3 separate regions of the Homo sapiens genome follow, and all the other regions are linked to region 1. The links are contacts of gene promoters, found by promoter capture Hi-C in human tissues and cell types (Jung and others, 2019). All regions are on one chromosome and are shown on one strand. Each heading gives the region's core, a stretch centred on a gene start or on the middle of the fragment in contact. The rest is flanking DNA. Distances are from core to core; before and after follow the strand shown.

Evidence for each region. Contacts are between HindIII fragments. The study calls those that stand out against the background at their distance.
Region 2: a fragment that was not itself captured here is called in contact with the fragment with the promoter of PPP1R17 in region 1 in 5 of the 25 tissues and cell types used here (adrenal gland, heart left ventricle, liver and 2 more).
Region 3: a fragment that was not itself captured here is called in contact with the fragment with the promoter of PPP1R17 in region 1 in 2 of the 25 tissues and cell types used here (hippocampus and neural progenitor cells).

What each region holds. Positions count from the first base shown.
Region 1 is chr7:31,684,203-31,688,538 of GRCh38, forward strand. It overlaps PPP1R17 (protein phosphatase 1 regulatory subunit 17), which reads left to right and starts at 3,013. Exons shown (of 5, transcript NM_006658.5): 1 at 3,013-3,104. It also overlaps a transcript of PDE1C not described here. The HindIII fragment of the contact is 11,578 bases long and covers 1-4,336 here.
Region 2 is chr7:31,647,973-31,651,780 of GRCh38, forward strand. ITPRID1 (ITPR interacting domain containing 1) reads left to right here. Exons shown (of 15, transcript NM_001257967.3): 13 at 3,170-3,297. It also overlaps a transcript of PDE1C not described here. Among named protein-coding and RNA genes, the nearest start is that of PPP1R17, 37 kb to the right of the region's middle. RefSeq lists an enhancer at 3,215-3,773. The HindIII fragment of the contact is 6,446 bases long and covers 1-3,808 here.
Region 3 is chr7:31,738,498-31,742,518 of GRCh38, forward strand. It overlaps a transcript of PDE1C not described here. Among named protein-coding and RNA genes, the nearest start is that of PPP1R17, 53 kb to the left of the region's middle. The HindIII fragment of the contact is 9,356 bases long and covers 1-4,021 here.

The sequences.
Region 1 (4,336 bases), core at 1,763-4,262:
CCGAACTTGGGAGTAGTAGACATGTCTATTCAAAGGGGAAATCAGGGATTCATACTCTTCTGTCTTTGAAAATATTCCCTTTGAACTGTGGAAATTAAGTGACAAAAGGATTTGTTAAAATCTACAGGCTGGAATATGCTTAACACAATTAAGCTTCTCCAAAGAGCCTCAGAAAAATCTAAATTATATATTTTAAAATTCATTAATGATGAATTGGACTTTATAAAAATTTAAAAGCTATGCTTTGTGAAAGACTCCATGAAAAGATTAAAAATACAAACAGCAAACTGGGAGAAAGTATTTGCAACCCATATTTCTAATAAAGAACTAGTATCTGGAATATCTAGGATCCAGTTCAAAACTCAACAGTAATATAAAAAGTCCCATTAGAAGGTAGACAAGAGACATGAAGTAACATTTCACCAGAGAAACTACGCAGATGACAAATAAGCACATGAAAAAATGTTTAGCATAATTAGTCATGCACAGAATGCAAATTAAAACCATGACGAGATATTACTACTGAACCTACCTCTGAGAATGGCTTTTTAAAAATACTGGCAACACCAAATTCTGGTGAAGATACAGAGAAACTGGACCCTTCGTACATTGCTGGTGGGAATGGGAAATGCTACAGCCGCTTTGGTGTTATTGTAAAAGGAAACATGCAATTGTCAGTAATTACTCTTCTGGGCATTATCCCAGAGAAATTAAAAATTATGTTCACGCAAAAGCCTCTCTACATGAATGTTCATAGCAGCTTTATTTGTAATAGCCAAACATTGGTAACAATCCAGGTGTATATACAAGATGTCACACCAACTGTGGTCCATTCTATGGAATACTATTCAGCAATGACAAAGAACAAATTATTGACACACACAACAACCTGAATGGATCTCTAGGGAATAATGCTGAGTGAAAAAAAAAAAGCCAAACCCAAAAGGCTACCTACTGTATTATTCCATTATTAAAACATTCTTGAATTGACAAAATTATAGAAATGGAGAATAGATTCATGGTTGCCGAGTTTAAAAAGTGATTGGGAGCAGGAGGTTAGGAAGGAACGGAGGGGGGCATGGCTATATAACGGCAAGATAAGGGAGGCTTGTGGTGACAGAAATGTTCTGTATATATTCATGTAAATATCAACATACTGGTTTTGATATTGTAGGATAGTTTCATAAGATGTTACCATTGGATATAACTGCTTACGTATAGGAGATCTCCCTGTATTATCCCTCACAACGACATGTAGATCTATTACCTCAAAACAGTTTAATTCAAAAGAAGAATTCAAGGATTTCAGAAGGAAAGTATATCTTTTCCACTCAAGTGTGGACTGAAGATGCTGCTAACTCATTGGCCAACAAGGCTGTTGTTAAGAAGATAAAGTAAGGCAGGGTTTAATGCCTAGGTGATGGGTTGATAGGTCCAGCAAACCACCATGGCACACGTTTACCTATGTAACAAACCTGCACGTCCTGCACATGTGTCCCAGCACTGAAAATAAAATAAAATTTAAAAAATGAAGAAGATAAAGCAGGCAGTTTTGAACACAGACCTGCTTCTAGGCCCTGTCCCTCAACATCTAGGGCCTTCCCTTCCTAGACAAGAGCATCACCTTTCAGCAACCCTCATCTCTTCCCAGGAGGTCCCAATAAGGATCAACACAAAATGGAACAGGCAAAGAAGTCCATTCTCTGCTTATCTGTTACCATGGCAAAAGTCTAACCCTAGGAGTCAACCTCTTGGTGAGTTTACTATGGTTCTAGCCCTGTTATTTGGGATCCTGGCAAGTGGGAGGGAGGCACCAACAAACACATTGCCAGTGGCAAGCAGGCAGTTGAAACCAAGGGGTTGCCAGGGACCTGCTCTGCAGGGAACCTCAGGTAAGACTGGAAAAAATATGGATGTGTGGATGGTGCTCACGTATCTTCTGTGAGAACATATTTCTTGGGCATCACTGGGTGGTCCATTGGCTGCTATCAGGGGGTCTGGAGCCCTTCTAGTGGGTCCTGATACCTACCTGATCTCCCAGACTGGCCTTCCTGCTTTGGAGTCAAAACTGCTGCTCCTCCAAACCCCAGTGGGCTCTCCTCCAGTGAGCAGACCCAAAACATAGAACCTTCCTCTCCAAAAGACAGCATGTCTCCCGCCTCTCCCACCTTGCTTAAACATCCACTCTTGAGTGCCTACGTATTCCTAATATTGGTACATTTGGCTTTGTTCCTTTGAAGGAGGAAATTTTTTCTGGCCTGCACACTATAACCTATAGAGTTGGGGGCTGCTTTCTTTGCTATGTGCTGTTTGAAATGCTCTCTTTGCTGAGAGGTATTGCAAAGTGGTTACAAGCGTGGACCCTAGCATTTCATTACCCCATTCAAACCCTAGCTTCACCATGTGGGGAGACCTTGGTCAGATGATTTGGTAACTCTTGAGCCCCAGCTTCCTCATCAATAAAATGGGATGATGACTGTAGCTCATCTCACAAGGTTGGCCTGAGGGTTAAGTAAGTAGATATGTGTGAAGTCTCTAGAAGAGTGTCTGGCATTTTGGTAGCCTTACATAAATGTTAGCAGTAGCTACCCTTCTCTTCCTCCTCATGATAGTACTTTGAGAAGCAGCAATAGTGATTGAAAGTACTCTGGATTTAAACTTAAATAGCTTTGAGAGTCGAAATTAGCTGTGGCCTCTCTTGGGCATATCACTTAACTTCTTGTGCCTCAGTTTCCATATTTACAAAATCAGGCCAAAAAAAATCTATCGCATGGGAATTCAATGATGTAGCTGGTTTGTCTGAATTTCTCTGGTGTGCACACCGGAAACTCAAAGCACGACTCTATACTGTACTTTTGTAATGTACAATGATTGCCGTGGAGAGCAGCGATGGAGATGTTAGTCCTCTTTCCTTCTCCATCCCCCTTGCCCTGGTGCCTGTGAAACAGAGCATCCCCATGGCAACAGCAGCAGCTGGTCCCTAGATAAGAGGAGCTGGAGCCGGCCAGCAGCAGCCACTGCCGCAGAGGAGCCAGGCCCAGCCTCGGTGAGCACACACGCCCTCCCTGTCTCTCGCCTTCGCTTCCCTGCATCTGCGCTGATTGGTAAGTGCTTCAGATTTTTACTCCAAGAACTTTTGTGGTGAGAAAAGCAAGTTTCCAGTCAGTTACTGGGACAAAGAAGGCTGTAGCTGGTGGCACGGGGTTGTGCTTTATGGAGCAAGGCTAAGCTGGGGCCGAGTGGACAGCAGAAAAAGTTACCACTTTCAAGTCATTCTTCCAAGGGAGGGAATGGAGTTCTGTAAAAGACTGAACCCTCACAAACTCATTTGCAAAGTTTCAAGATGAAGTTGGTGTATCTGCATATTCACACAGGATAGAGAGGTTTATCTTCCAAGGCTGGGGAAAGTACAGAAAGTATGCTTCTCAAAACACATTCTCCATGCCCTACTTTAAGTCAGTCTCTCCTCCAGGAATACTGCCAATTTAGGTTTTCTAAATGAACAAATCTGATTTTAAAAGACGGTACTTTTTGACCTGAATTCAATCCTCTGGTTAAAAAGAGGTTTGACAATGAATATGTATTTTACATAGCCAGAGGGTGCATTAACGAGATACCACATAGGCTGTGGATACAACCTTCTACCCTTTTATTCCATCCAGTAAATCAAGACCTGATTACTTTGGGGGATATTCTTCAGAATACCGTATGGTAAGCTAAGTGTCAACTCGCTTCTGAGAATCAGTTCTATTATGTTCCCAAGATTTAGAAATGGGTTGGTTTTTGTCTTGAACTATTCTCATCTCATTACCAGCTTCAGAGAAGGCCAGAGATGGGATAAAGAGATAATTCTGATAGATCAATTTAGATAGACATATAATCACAAATGGAGGACTGAAAGATCCAAGAAGGTCCCTCACACTCACGAAAATATCAGTGTGTAGGACCTGGGCTCGGGACTCCATGCACATTCTATGGGTAATACTCTCAACAACCCTGGAGAAGAGCCACTATCTTCCCCCATTTAACAGATTTGAAAACTAAATTTTTGAGAGAACAGATAACTGTCCCAAGTTCACCCAGCTAGAGAGTGGTACAAGCAGCCAAACGTTGGCTTCTACCTTATATTGACTCACAGCATCCAATCTTAAAGTTGAGAGGAATTTTCTTCCCATAATTTAAACCGCATATTCTCACATCCAACTGAGAAAACCGCTCAATGATAAGAGAAAAGACAAAAAATCCAGACCAGCTTCTGACCACACACTGAACCAACTAATGTGTTTCAGCTCCGCTGGTGTGCCTGCCTTTCTGCAATATAGTGGGGTCCCTTTTC
Region 2 (3,808 bases), core at 130-2,629, 38 kb before region 1:
AAAAATGGTTTGTTGGTATAACTAAATTGTTATATATAGGTAAATTCTTCAGGATAATTTGTTAATTTTAAAAAGTGTTAATTCAAAAAAAATTCCAGAAAAGAAAATGAGATCTATCAGAAATAAGATTTCTGAATATTAGAAGTGCTTCCATATTGTTTATGATTTAGTTTTAGAGAAAAGTAAAAGTACACAAATAAGAAAAAGTAATATGAGCATATTCAAAGTGAAAATTCATTGTCTTTTGGTGATGGTGCTCTTACCATTGAAGTTAAAGTTTGTTTCAATGGGTTTGGGTCAGTAGAGCAGAACTTGCATTTGGTATTTGGGTTATAATCAAGCCTTTATATTGTAAGAAAAAGAAGAAGAAGAAAAAGAAGAAATGTTCAAAACACTCTATTTTTGAGGGTTTTTATTTATTTTTTTTCTCACCTACAGTTTTCTTTATTATGAAATCATTTCTATACTTATTCTAGGGCTAAAATGTGTTTTTCCATGTTTCCAAATAACCAGAAGATGGCAGCATTTCAGAATCTTCCACATCCCTCCACCATTCTCAGAGAGCAAACACTCCATCAGTTATTCCCAAACCAAAACACCCCAGTCTTATACCTTTCAATCACAAAAGGCTACCCCAAAATAACTACATGAGCATAAAATTCAATGTTTATGATGTTCAGCCTATTTGAGCACTACACTTCCATGATCCTGGCGTCACTGTCCCCAGAACTTTGAAGTGAATTTGAACCAGTTGGGAAGTCTTGGTTACCTGATGGGAAGCTACTAGAACCACTCAAACAGCTCGCTGCTAAGGGACAAGCAACTTATCCTTGTGTTCAGCTATACTGTGGTCCCTGCTGTGACTCAGATCTTAGAAGAAAAGAAATGAAACAAGAGATGGGTTCGAAATCTTACTGCCATTTTTTGACCACAGACAAGTTAACTAGCCATTCTATGTCAGAACACGTATCTATAACAGATGCCCTTCATGGTCTACAAGATCTTTTCTGGTCTTAAGAGCCATAATCTAGCATTCCTGCCAACATCAGTATCACTTCAGAGATTCCCTAAGTGTTTCAAATTCACTCACATTGATGCAAGAGTAATTGCAAAATTGCAAAATTGATGCAAGAGCTTTACTATGCAAAATACGTTATTCAGTATAAAAGCGAGAGGATAGAATCAAAACCAAACTCCAAAACCAAAATATGGAGAGTTTTCAATATAAAAACATTACTCTTAGGAAAGTATTTCCATTATGACAATTCTGGTAAAAATAGCCATCCGGCTGCCAGGATGTTGGCCATGTAGTTTAGAGAGGAAGGGTAAGAAATCTCAGACTTCCTAGAAACAGGGCTAGAGGAGTCCACCTAGCTGTAAAGTTGGTCTCCATGGAAGGAGGAAGAAGAGAAGCTTCAAAACAGCCAGCCTGCAAGATCAGTTTCCTTTAAAGCACACCACAGAAGCCCCACAGCATGCTCTCTGTTCCCAGCTCACTGGCCATTGTCTCTACAAGGAATGCTGGGAAATGTAATTTTTTAGCTAGACACATGGATGCCTCTAAAGTATTCTTGTTAACAAGAATAAAGGAGAGAAAGATTGTGAGTAGTCAACTAGCAGCCTCTGCTACACTGATTTTGGGAAGGGGTCCAAGCCTGTGGGTCTGATAGAGATGGCTTTAGGGCCTAACAAGCATTAATATTACTCAAAGTCAAATGGTTAGTGGCCCTGGAGTTCTGGGTCATGGATTTCAAAGCATGATCCAACCCAGGATGCAAAACAAAGGGGATAGCTGGTAAGAACTCAGCAAGTCATCAGAGTGCCGGCAAATGGACTGGGCTTGGAGGTGCCAAAGGTAAATAGCTTTAGTTAAAGCCATGAAAACAGATTGTGTTCAGCAACTACTGACAGCAGGGGAAAGAGCTGAGCTCCACTCCAATTTGTGCAGAGGTGATTTGGGCATTCTAAAGAGAGAATAAGGGAGGGTGAAGAGTAGGGGCTCAGTAGAGTCAGAAAAGTGAAAAATCACAAAGAATTGGTCCATGTCAATGCCATTAGACCAACTGTGTTTGTGAGCCAGCAGTAACTGAAGTTAGGATTCTGCCCTCCTAGAGACCGGGGACAGAGGCCCAAACCTTCTAGATGATTACATTTCAAAGGAGTGGCTCTCAGGTCCTTGAGAGAGACACTTGTGAGTTGTAAGAAATACATATTTACAATTATAATCAACATTTAATAAATACTCTTAGAAAGGGCCTATGTCAGGTGTTGGCGAAAGCAAACAGTAAATTTTCCTGGCAGCCTTTAGATTTCTCAGTCAGGCTTTTTATTGGGGGATGGGGAGGTTAAGGTCATCCCAGGGACACAGCCTTGTGCTGCTGGGAGGCAGACTGGAGGGTGGTCAAGTCTGTTAGTGGAGAGTTCCAAAGTTCTCAGGAGCTGCAGGAATATATTTAAATGAGAAAACCAAGGCAAAGGCACAGCCTGAGAGAGAAAGTAAGAGTTAAACGATGACTACATCAGGAGCAATGGGAAGGATTAAAAGCGTAGACAAAGTTCAATTCTAGATTCCAACTCCTGGAGATGACAGGATGCCTAACCTTTGCCTGCCTTCCTCAGGGTGGGCTTGTTAGGTGGATGAAGCTGATCCTGCAGATTCCAACCTCCAGGACTGTGACTAAGCAGGACTAAGACTAATAAACATTATTCTAAGCAGATTTTCTTTAATCAAACACATACCAGCTGAACAGATGTGTTCAATGTTATTGATACTCAGAGTGAGGCAGTACCCAGCAACAAAGTTAAACAAGATTAAACAGACTCAATTTCTCACAAACCCTTACTCTGGCACTTCCCCTCCTCTCTTCTACCTACATCCTTGCATCCCTATGTCACCTAGGCCTCCAGACTGCCTTCCAGCCTCTGGGACACAATGATTGTCACCCAAAGGCCACCCAACAACAGCTGCCCTTCTGTTGCAGATGAGCACTGTCACTAGTTGTTTTGTGAACCCAAATATTGGGCTCTTCCTATTCCCTCCCCCTTATATTAGCAGTAGGGCCTGTTTGCGAAAAAAGGGATCCCAAATGGGAAGACAGGCTCCACCATGGTGAGCTCTTGCAGAGGATCAGAGAGGACTTTCTTCTCAGTTCTTTCTCATTGTTCTCAGTGCACAGTCCATGAGATGGAAGCCATGAAGACGATATGCCAAAGTTTCCGGGAGTATTTAGAAGAAATTGAACAGCACCTTATGGGACAGCAGGCCCTCTTTTCCAGGGACATGTCAGAGGAGGAAAGGTAATTACCTAAGGGAGCCATAAAAGTAAGTACCAGCCCACACACCTGGAGCAAGGAAGATAATCAGGGCAGAACAGAGGAGCACCCTGGAGCAGAGCTAATGAGAAACCGGCCAGCTTTTCCTTTGCTTTCTTGGTCTTGTTCTTGCTTTCTCAGTGGGAGTCTGTGAGAGCCATTTGCTAGATAGCAATACTTATTCTTGGAGAAGGTCAAAAGACAGGCAGTCAGGGGCATTGACAGCAGGATGTCTTTAATCAATGGGATGGGGCTCGTGCAAATGCAAATGTGGGAGTTATGAGAGTTTTGAAAATCTGCATTGGGGCTGGGGATGGAAATCAGGTTTAACTGTAAAGGGAGAGGCATACGGGTTTTTCTTGGGGAAATAGAAGTGTTTTAAAACTGAATAGTGGTGATGATTACACAATTTGGTAAATTTATTAAAAATTATTAAATTGTGCTCTTAAAATAGGGGAACTATATTATACTGCAATAAAGTTGTTTTTTTTTTTTA
Region 3 (4,021 bases), core at 662-3,161, 53 kb after region 1:
CTGGCCCTGCTCTTGACAGGTGGGGATTATTGCAATTCAAGGTGAGATTTGGGTGAAGACACTGCCAAGCCATATCACAGGTGCTGCTTGAAAAGCAACCCAGCTAGGAGAGGCATTTCTGCAAGGCCATCCCAGGGGGCATAATTCCCATAGCACCAAGCCGCCATGGGCCAGGAGGGCAGCAAGCCCAGGGGCTTCTTGGAGATGGTGGCCAGCTGGTGAGGAAAAAATAAGACTTGGGACTCAGGAAGACCTGGGTTGGAACAGAAGCATCCCCAGGTGCCACCTGTGTCACCTGAAGCGGGGCACAGAGCACTCTCAGCCTGCATGTTCTCCCAGGTAGACCAGGATGGTAATGGCTGCCTCAGGATGTGGTGAGTATGTGATGAACTAGCACAGGAAAGCCTGTGCCATGGAGACCTTCTCACAGGAAATGCTCAGGACGGGTTTGTTCTCCTTGGAGAATACCAGTTCCCCTCCTGACTTCATTCCCCTTCCCCCACACCCCTGCCCCCCACATATACATATGCATGTACCTCATCCTACACCCCTATAAATGCCCCCACCTGCCTGTTTCCATCCTCAAATCCTTGACTTCCTTCTGCTCATGCTGTCTGATTACCTATTGAGTTCTTCTTGCAGAACTCTGGAAGATTTCCTGTTCACTAAAACGTCAGTGATTGACGTCAGCAGTAACTTTTAGACACACACACACACACACACACACACACACACACACACCAGCTCTTCTGGAGCAAATTTTAGTGATGATCTCATCTTTATATGAGTGGAATAAAGCCTCACTCAGGCATCAGCCAGTTCAAGGAAAATTTATAGAAAGGGTAGGGTGCAAGAGAGCCTTCATGGGGTCCCTAGAAATCTACGCCATGGGTGAGAGGGAATGCCCTTGTTTTATAAAGGCTCCTGGAAGCATCGTGATCTTGATGGGAATGTAAATAATCATTCATTGAGCACTGACCATGTGTCGGGCACTATGTTATGAGCTTTAGTGCATTTTCTAATGTAATCATTCCGGCTGCTAGGATATGCACTTAATCCAAAGAAAGTGGTTACTTGAAGGATTGGATCATTTGTCCAAGGTCACACAGCTAGCAAGCCATGGAGCTACAGAATAAGTTCAATAATGGAGGTGTGCTCAGAAGCCCAGTGCACGAGTGGAGGTCCTCCTTATGGTCACGTAGAAGCACACTCTCAGTGCAGGAAAGGGAACCAGTTTGGTGAACACTCAGTCAGTGTTGCCCTCTCCCCCAACTAAACAAAAATGTAAAACCCTAGAATTAGTGTCCTCACCCAAGGAGAACCAATTAGGCACCCAAAATGGTGGTCTCAAACAGCAGTCTGCAAATGGGATTTGCCCACCATGTGGATCATGAACTTTCAGAGGGCACATTGACGTAGAACACTTTAAATAATTTAGTTTCCTAATTTTTGACTTTACTTTCTCTCTCTTTCCCAAAACCGATCTGCCTGAGAACTGGCCTACACGTTCATGCAGGCTGTCATTTCCTATCTTACCTTTTCCCACTCTACAAAAGGAAGGCATGCCATGAAATACTGGCTGTGTAAGCCTCTCTAGCACTTGTCTCCCCATGTCTTGCACCTTTTGCTCTGAAGGGCTAGAATGTGGCATTTCCACTCTCTTTGAGCTGCCCTCATGGGATTCCTTTGGATGGCAATGGGCTCTTTGCTGCTATTTAGGGAATTCTGCAAACAAAGTCACCCACTATGCCACCCTCCAACATGACACAAGAAAAATAACAATATTGGCAAAGGTGTGTTATAACTAATGTTTCTTTTTTTCCAAGCAGTGAATGACTAACATACATATGTTATGTATACACATGCAGACAGGCACATATAGATATCTAATTTATAATCATTTGATGAGTCTAAGTAAGACTTTTAGTGCACTTTAAAAAATTGAGAAAGTGCATGATTCAAATGCCTGGGTTATAAATCCTTCTCCAACTCAAGTAGTTTCCAATTCTTCACTTATAACAAAATTGAAATAAGATCTATTTAAGCTGTCAGAATGCTAGATTACCATGTGCTTATTTTTGACACATTACCCAAAGAGAGTTCAAAGATTTAAGGAACATTACTATAATAAAACTTCTTCTATTTCCATATCCTTATTTATGTGAACTAGTTTTCTCAATGCTAAAAATGAAACATCATATCATTCTAGCAATAAATAATATATGGCAATGGATTCATGTACTAATTGAGGAAAAATGCCTCACTATCTCATCAAGGATTGCATTTTCAGGCCAGGCACGGTGGCTTACATCTGTAATCTCAGCACTTTGGGAGGCTGAGGAAGAAGGATCATTTTAAGTCAGGAGTTTGAGACCAGCCTGGGAAACGTAGCAAGACCCTGTCTCTACAAAAAACTGAAAAATTAGCCAGGAGTGATGGTACATGCCTGTAGTCCCAGCTACTCAGGAGGCTGAAGTGGGAGGATCTCTTGAGTCTAGGAGTTTGAGGCTGCAGTGATCATGCCACTGCACTCCAGCCTGGCCAACAGACAAAGACCCTGTCTCAAAAAAAAAAAAAATAGAATTGCATATTGTACATTTTATGTTTACTAATTTGTTTAACGATATTTATAATATAATGTTGTTTTGATCTTTTAGTCTCAGCTTTGTGGTGCTGTGACTTTTCACCTTTTTTATTTCTATTTTTCTTTATATTTTATCTTTCCTGAGTATTATTACTTATGAGAAATTTGGAAAGTCTACATAAGGTGATGGTAACTAGATTAACTGGTTTTAGCTGAATTTTACATCTTTCTAAAGTTTCATAATATATACCTTACCTTATCCAGCTTCAATCCTTTACCATATTTTAACTTCATATTTTTAATCTTTAACTGTTCCTATTCTAAAATAAATTTATCCACTCAATTATGTGCAGTATTATCAATTTTCTCATTCCTTTCCTTAACTAATATAATCTCTCAAATTGTTACATTATTTCACTTTTCTCTAAATTTCATTCTACTATGTTTTAACTGCTTTGTATCTTATTTTTCACTTTAATTTTCACATGTATTTTCAGTTATTTTTACCCATTTTCATCTTCTTTAGACTTCTAACAAGGTTCTGGTGACTGGGTTTTATTCCAGCCTATATTTTACCTGCCTGTAGCAAGAAAGTTTTGTCTTCCTTTTAGGCAGTTACAGACATATTCTCCCAGAATGTGGCTCATCATAGGGATCAGGAAGAAATGAGCTTACCTAGGGATGAAGACAAGCTTTGGTATGACTGGCATGAAAGGCATAAGGGGTGGAAAATGGCTGTGGCTGCAGAAGATACTGGGGAGGGAGGCAGGGACCAGGTCCCATGTGCCCCAATTCTCTTCCTGCAGCCTCCCCAGAGTTAACAACTTCTGTTTTCACAGCTCAGGCATAGCCCTCATCACATTGTTTGCTAGCTATTTGCTCCTAAAACTATCTGCCCACTGGATGAGAGCTCCGGAGACCTAAGACTGTGTTTTAGTCACTGCTGCATTCTTAGCACCTGAAACAGGAAAGGAATTTGACCAATATTATTGAACAAAGGAATGAATCAGTGGTATTCTAGATCAGGAATAAAGGCATGAAGAAAGAGAATGAGACTGGTACACATTTGTGGACAATGAGTACACGCATCCTGCACATTCCAGTAAGAAAACAATAAAGAACAAACGTCCCATCGGACTTCCACTTGCTCATGAAGACCCTGAGTCCTGTGCTCTTCCGGCACTAACCAGTTTGTAACATAAACTCAGAAGCCAACACTTTCCTAAAGCCATTTGCTGATGGCTGCCTAGACTATGCAGTTTCTGTTTCTTTTAATAACTACAAGTTTCTTATGAATTAGAGCCTTGGGACTACATTTTAACCGAATTCAAGCAGCACAAGCCAGCTGTGGTGGTGCACACCTGAAGTCCCAGCAACTTGGGAGGCTGAGGCGGGAGGATCCCTTGAACCCAGGTGTGTTCGAGGCCACCCTGGGCA